Linked DNA regions of Homo sapiens: region 1 is linked to region 2. Evidence: promoter capture Hi-C in 16 types of primary human blood cells and fetal thymus (Javierre and others, 2016). All regions are on one chromosome and are shown on one strand. The core of a region is centred on a gene start or on the middle of the fragment in contact, and the rest is flanking DNA. Distances in the headings are between cores, read along the strand shown. Region 1 has its middle 35 kb from the start of RNF6. Region 2 holds the start of GTF3A (general transcription factor IIIA).

The links. The method cuts DNA at HindIII sites, captures the fragments that hold promoters and counts their contacts. A CHiCAGO score of 5 or more calls a contact.
Region 1: a contact is called between a fragment that was not itself captured here and the fragment with the promoter of GTF3A in region 2, in 1 of 17 cell types (activated CD4 T cells). The highest score is 5.2, in activated CD4 T cells.

What each region holds. Positions count from the first base shown.
Region 1 is chr13:26,185,495-26,189,034 of GRCh38, forward strand. It overlaps a transcript of RNF6 not described here. Among named protein-coding and RNA genes, the nearest start is that of RNF6, 35 kb to the right of the region's middle. RefSeq lists enhancers at 651-820, 871-920. The HindIII fragment of the contact is 1,438 bases long and covers 646-2,083 here.
Region 2 is chr13:27,423,369-27,426,881 of GRCh38, forward strand. GTF3A (general transcription factor IIIA) reads left to right here and starts at 1,251. Exons shown (of 9, transcript NM_002097.3): 1 at 1,251-1,570. The coding sequence starts at 1,370. RefSeq lists silencers at 1,076-1,345, 1,356-1,415, 1,516-1,595 and enhancers at 1,686-1,755, 2,706-2,925. The HindIII fragment of the contact is 2,756 bases long and covers 1-1,535 here.

The sequences.
Region 1 (3,540 bases), core at 115-2,614, 1.2 Mb before region 2:
CCAGCACTTTGGGAGGCCGAGGTGGGCGGATCACGAGGTCAAGAGATCGAGACTATCCTGGCCAACATGGTGAAACCCCGTCTCTACTAAAAATACAAAAAATTAGCCTGGCGTGGTGGCAGGCGCCTGTTATCACAGCTACTTGGGAGGCTGAGGCAGGAGAATCGCTTGAACCCGGGAGGCGGAGGTTGCAGTGAGCCGAGATCGTGCCACTGCACTCCAGCCTGGGCAAAACGAGCGAAACCCTGTCTCAAAAAAAAGTTGTTACTTAAAGTAATGCATTGTCAACAGAAGTGTAGAGGCCATGATTCTAAACTTGTGTTCTCTACGCCTAACTACGAACCTTGTGCCTTTCCAAAACCAAAGGTCACACTTCTGGAAAGTTCCTTCCTCCCTCACATTCAATATCTATTTAGAGAACACACACTATGTCCTAGCTTCTGCTAGGTTCTGAAAATACAGTAAGAGGCAAAAGAGCCATAGCCCCTCCCACCCCGTGCCCTTATGAAACTTGCAGTCTACATAAACATAGATATGAAACAAACACAAAATGTATGTTTTAACCCTAAAATGCGATAGGGAAGCCAGTCAGACGATTTACTCGGGAGTAAGAATTCAGGTCATTCACCAAGGCGCCCATGTCAAAGCTTCATCACCCGCCTCGCGGCCCTAAAACGTGTCAGAGTCATGATACACACAACGCAGAGGAAAAGTTCAAAAACAGATCTTAAAAAGAGAAGTGAAAGCAAGCGATCAAAACATTTCTGGAAATCTGACACATCTGGAGTGCCGTGTGGAGACGCCAGGGCGCGTGGAGCTTTGAGCAGTTAAAAACCCAGACCGGGAGGCCAGTGCGTGTGTAAGACCGCGTTTCTCTGCAAGGCTGTCCCGCGGCAGGAACGCGCTCGTTGGGCCGCAGAGCAAGAGCGGGACGCGCCGGGGGGCGTCTGCGTGGCACGTGGGCCCCGCAGCCAGTCGCGCTACCGACTGGCAGTCAGCGGAGACGCTTCGGAGCAGGTCTGTTAGGGCGCGCGCACACACATGCACGTGCACGAGCGCACGTACACGCGCACACCGCCAGCGCGGACCCTGACGGGGCCGAGCCTCGGAATTGGGCCTCCTCGGCCGCCGTCGTCTTCTCAGCTCTCACAGGGCCCGCAGCGGCGCTATACCTTCGGCCACAGGTAGCGCGTTCCTTCGCTGTGCTGACCGTCGATCCCGGGGGCGCTAGAGCGCCGGCTCCGGGGAGGGCAGGGAAGCGTCAGGGACCTTTCTTCTTCTTTTTTTTTTTTTCTTTTTTTGAGACGGAGTCTCGTTCTGTCGCCCAGGCTGGAGTGTAGTGGCGCGATCTCGGCTCACTGCAATTTCCGCCTCCCAGGTTCACGCCATTCTCCTGCCTCAGCCTCCCGAGTAGCTGGGACTACAGGCGCCCGCCACCACGCCCGGCTAATTTTGTGTATTTTTAGTAGAGACGGGGTTTCACCGTGTTAGCCAGGATGGTCTCGATCTCCTGACTTCGTGATCCACCCACCTCGGCCTCCCAAAGTGCTGAGATTACAGGCATGAGCCACCGCGCCCGGCAAGCGTCAGGGACCTTTCTAGAGCCTTGCTTGGCCTGAGGTCCGGGACTGGGGCTGTCCCCGCTTCCTGTTTCTGCCATCAGTGGGGCCACAGGCCTGAAGACGGCTTGTACCGCCACCTTGGGCGCCTCTGCTCCTGGCTGCGACGTGGGGCGTCCTAGCCTTCGGACCGGGAACCTGATAGGAGACGAATAGAAAGGGGGAAAGCCCTGGAAAATTAAGCCGGCACAAGAAGGGGGAAACGTTTGGAGGTCAGGCAAGGCTGATGGCCTTGGGGATCGCGGAGCAGGAGGCTTACTGGGATGTCCAGTGTGAGAATGTCAGCCCGTGAGCTCTGGTGTGCAAGAAAAATGCCTCTTTTCTGGATTTCAGGTGAATTTCTGACTCCTCTGGGCTACATACGACCACCCTTCCCTGGCCCCCTCTGGTGAACTGGTTATAAAAGAAAAATTACCCTAGTTCTTCCTGCGGTCCCCTCCCCAGGGATTAGGCCAAGTTCTGGAAGCTTATTGGGTGACTTAGTGGGTATGTTAATGGTTAAGTAACGTACCCAAGGTCTTATTGCCAATCAGTGGCAAAGTCAGGATTCAAATGCAGATCTCTTGGACTCCAGAGGCTGGAGTTTATTAAATGTTTAGCCCCAGCTCTATTTGATTTTGGGGGTTTTTTAAGACAGTCTCTATCTGTTGCCCAGGATGGAGTGCAGTGGTGCAATCTTAGCTCACTGCAGCCTTGAACTGTTGGGCTTAAGCAGTCCTCCTGCCTCAGCCTCCCAACTAGCTGGGACTACAGGCGTGTGCCACCACACCTGGTTCCTAGCTCTATTTGAGACCACAGTGGCCTGAAGTGTAAAGCACACTGGACACTAGGTGTCAAAAAATAGAACTAGAAGTCAACAAGTGATCTAAAACAAGATTCTGTAGGTGTCTGGGCATCAGTTTCATCATCTGGGTGAAATGGACTTGAACCTGTTAATATCCAAGGTCCCTTCAGCCCTAATAGTCTAGGAATTCTAGAGAGTGTAACTGCTCATTTGCAGGCTGCCATCCAGACCATCACAACTGTCTTGTGGCTCATGGAGACTTTCAGATTGATGCAGTGGCTCCAAGGCGAAGTGACCTCAATTGCTGATGCAAAACTAGATTCTATAAGTGTAAACTGGTGGTTCACAAGGACAGGTGAGAAGTGCTGATGGTGGCAAGGGAGGCAATTATAACAATATCCCTCCCCTTCTACCCCATCCTCCACCCCACTTGTGACAGACATAGACAAGGACTTAATTGTGGCACAGAGGAAGGGCAACTGACTCTTGAGACCAGTGAATCTGTAGTCAAAACGCACTGATCACTGTTGAATAACTACTGGAATTATCAAGAGTCTGGCTGAATTTACATTTTACTTTCCAAAACAAATATAACCAAAAATTCCAGTCACTGCATAAGCCAGAAGCAGGTGACACACAGAAGTGAAGACTGAGGGGAGTTTAGGTGAAAGCTGCAGCTGTTCTCTCCCTTTTAGTGGGGGCTTTAGTTGGACAAGTCAAAAGAGCTTTTTTTTTTTTTTTTTTTTTTTTTTTTTTGAGATGAAGTCTCACTCTGTTGCCAGGCTGGAGTGGCATGATCTCGGCTCACTGCAACCTCTGCCTCTTCAGTTCAAGCACTTATCCTGCCTCAGCCTCCCAAGTAGCTGGGACTACAGGCACATGCCACCATGCCCGGTTAATTTTTGTATTTTTAGTAGAGATGAGGTTTCAACATGTTGGCCAGGATGGTCTCAATCTCTTGACCTCGTGATCTGCCCACCTTGGCCTCCCAAAGTGATGGGATTACAAGCATGAGCCACTGCGCCCGGCTCAGAACAGATTTCTGAAGAGGTTGTATGCAAACTGATTATTGTAGACTCAAAGGCTTACACTCCCATGAAGTAAGAGGGAGCTTTCTTAAATGTAAGATAGAATCAA
Region 2 (3,513 bases), core at 1-2,500:
GAACTGGCGCAAGAGAAACCATTTTAGAATTCCGGAGTTGTGGGAGGGATGAGTGTAGAATTCTCCCATCCATGGACAGGGGCTAGAGTGGCAAATGAAGAAAGCAACAGGTGGACCCAAGGCATAGACACTCTCACAGCCCCGTTATCTTGAGACGGAGGATGACACAGGCGTTATCAACTTTCCCACTTTCAAGATGAGCAGACTGAGGCAAAGGAGTGTTTATGAACTGGAATACTCAGTTCATAAGCACTGATGTTAAGCCCTGGCTTGTTTCCAGAACTGCACTGCTGTGCAGGGACCTGTTCATCACATTCCGACAAGGGCTTAATGATTCGGAATAATGCAGGATGTGAAAAATATGGATCTGGCGAACATCCCCCAAGTCATCCTGCCAGTTATCTGTATCCAAGGACATTTTTTAGGCATGTGGTCCTCATAAACTAAGATACTCATATTCATTCAGGCCTCTCAAAAGTGCTTCTCAGGTTTTGATATGCACTGAATCACCTGGAGATTTGTTTCAAGTAGGTCATCAAGGCTCTAGGGCAGTGTTCCCAAACTTTTCCTTTTTTTTTTTTTTTTTTTCCAACCACCTGGTCAGTTTGCCGGGGTGGGGAAGGGTAGGATGGGGAGACATCTGTATTTATTCTTTTAGAGCTCGGGGTCTCACTCTGGGCTCAAGCGATTCGCCCGCGTACCTGGGACTACAGGTGCGCACTACTGTGCCAGGATAGTGGTTCCCAAACTTTTCTGCGCATTGAAATCACCTAGGAAGTTTCCAAAAATACTGATGCCTGTTTCCTACCCCCAGAAATTGTGATTTAAGTGGTCCAAGTATCCTCTAGGCTTCGGGATTTTGTAAAGCTCTCCACGTGAATCTGAGCTTAGGAACCTCTGAACTGGGGCTTGCAGCAGAAGCACGTAAAGCACGCAAAGAAACGAAACCACACAGGTCACACTAGTAATGTGGCAACAGGCTAACTTAAATTATGTAAGGCTAGTGCTTTCCAGAGTGTACTGGAGGACGGGAAACAAGCCCCATTTAAGCAGTGCCTCGGGATTTGAGTTGCCTGTGAAACGCAGCAGCCTTCTGCCGAGGACGCAGAAACCCCCGCCTCTCATCCAGGGCTGACAGGGCACGGGCCGCGAGCCGCGGCGGGGCCTCCTGGCGCATGCGCGATCTCCCGGAGCATGCGCAGCAGCGGCGCCGACGCGGGGCGGTGCCTGGTGACCGCGCGCGCTCCCGGAAGTGTGCCGGCGTCGCGCGAAGGTTCAGCAGGGAGCCGTGGGCCGGGCGCGCCGGTTCCCGGCACGTGTCTCGGCACGTGGCAGCGCGCCTGGCCCTGGGCTTGGAGGCGCCGGCGCCCTGGATCCGCCGGCCGTGGTCGCCGAGTCGGTGTCGTCCTTGACCATCGCCGACGCGTTCATTGCAGCCGGCGAGAGCTCAGCTCCGACCCCGCCGCGCCCCGCGCTTCCCAGGAGGTTCATCTGCTCCTTCCCTGACTGCAGCGCCAATTACAGCAAAGCCTGGAAGCTTGACGCGCACCTGTGCAAGCACACGGGGGAGGTGAGGGGGGCGAGGCTGCCAACCCTGGGCCTAGGGATGGCGCGTGGCCCCGGGGTAGCCACTGCAGTCGTGGCCAGGGCCGCAGGCCCCGCTGTGCAGCGCGTTCAGCTTTGACATCCAGGACTTGGGGAAGGAGCTGAGGAAGTAGACAGGAAGTTGTAGGACCTTCGTTCTGCGACCTTGATATCCATGGCAGGGGCTCGGGATTTACTAAGCAGTCATTGATCGTGAGTCTCGGCCAGCCAAGTGCCTCCCGTAATCTGCAAATAAGTGTGAGGTTTGAGGGGGCCCACCGCTACTAGACACCTGCCAAACACTGGCCCCTGGAGCTGGTACAGAAGATGGGTTACATGTACCAGGGGTCGTGAAAGCAGCATGTGCTCATTTCTTCGTAACTCCACACTGGAGAGAGCAGTGAGCAAAACAGGCAAACCCAAGGTTTCTGCTGCCATGGACCTTTGTTCCTGGGTCGAGCCGACCACAGGATAGGTGGGAATGACATGCAGTGTTGTGGTCAGGAAAGGCCTCTCTGTGTGAGCCGTGTAAGAAGGAAGGATCTAGCCATGCAGACATTTGTGCTAGGTAGAGAGAACACAAAGGGAGCCTGTGACCCTTGGGGTGGGAGGCAGGTGGGTGTGTTTGGGTGCGGAGATCACCATATGAGGTCTGAGAAGTAGGCCCATTAGGAGTTTGGATTTTATTTTGAGGGCAGGAGAATGTCAGATACCATGATATGACGTGGCAGCCCATGTCACACACAAGTGAGGAAAACGAGGGTCATGGAGGTCAAGGAATCTGCCCAGCTTCCCAGTTTTTGGCAGAGCTAGGCTTCACACTGCCTCAGCTTAAAGCCCTTAATTTCTTAAACCACTGGGCTGCAGTCCATACCTTTGCCCCTTGCACCTCCTCTAATTTATGGGCCACCTTCTCCAGGTGTCCTCCGGGGCCTCATTCCTTAACCTCTCCAGCACTGGAAGGCCGACCGCTTCTTCCTTGAGACCTTCTCTGGTTCTTTTCCTCTTCCTCGTCTGCCCTTTTCGTTGGATCCTCTTCTGCCCTCTGCATGTTCCACCCCGCCCAGCTCCCTCTTGCGGTCTTACATAGCCACCGGCATGACTCATAACATCCTTTATGCTTTGCCCCTCTGCCCTTCCTCTTGCCCGTTCTAGCCTCTAAATTCTGGGCTCTGTATTACCAGTAGATCCACGTAAGAGCTTGCCTTTCCTTTTAGACCGGTGTGCTGTATTTTGGATACTGGCGCTACCAGTTTCCTTAATACAGGTTGAAAAACTTGGAGTCATCTTTGTTGTCCCAGATCTCTCATGCAGATTAATTTGACAAATGTTTATTGAGCCTACTCCACGCCTGCCGCTGTGCAAGGTTCTGTGGCTCCGCCCCTGGTGGTATGTAGCTCACTGTGTTCCTGTTTGCTTGTTTTGCTCCTAGTACTCTCATGGAGGCCTCGGTGCCTCCCTCCTGGACGCCTTGGTAGTATGCTTTTCATAGTTTGATGCACCAAACTGGTTATTTGGTTATTTGGGGTGTGTGTTTGGCTTTTACTATAGGTTCAAAATGAGTCACCCCCTCCCAACTCCTGGGTTACAAAAGGTGGTTGCATTTAGGGTGTTGAGCTGTTTTCTTTGCTTCGCCCTGGCACCTGTGAGCTTTTTCAGGTGTGACACACTTTCCTATAGCTGTGCTTGGCATTATCCTAGCACAGACCCTGGGCTTGTCTGGGATGAGACAGGCCTCCCTCGTTCCTCTGCCCTAGGCTTGCTTTTTTACATGTTAAATCATGCGGTGGTGGGGATCCATGCAGACAAGCCATGCTAACAGCCAGGGCGTCTTTAAGAGGGGGTTGCTGTGAAAGCCTGCTGCCGGGTTGGGAGCAGGTTAAAAATGCTATGCCTGCTTATTTTAAATGCTGTTCATGGAACAAAAAT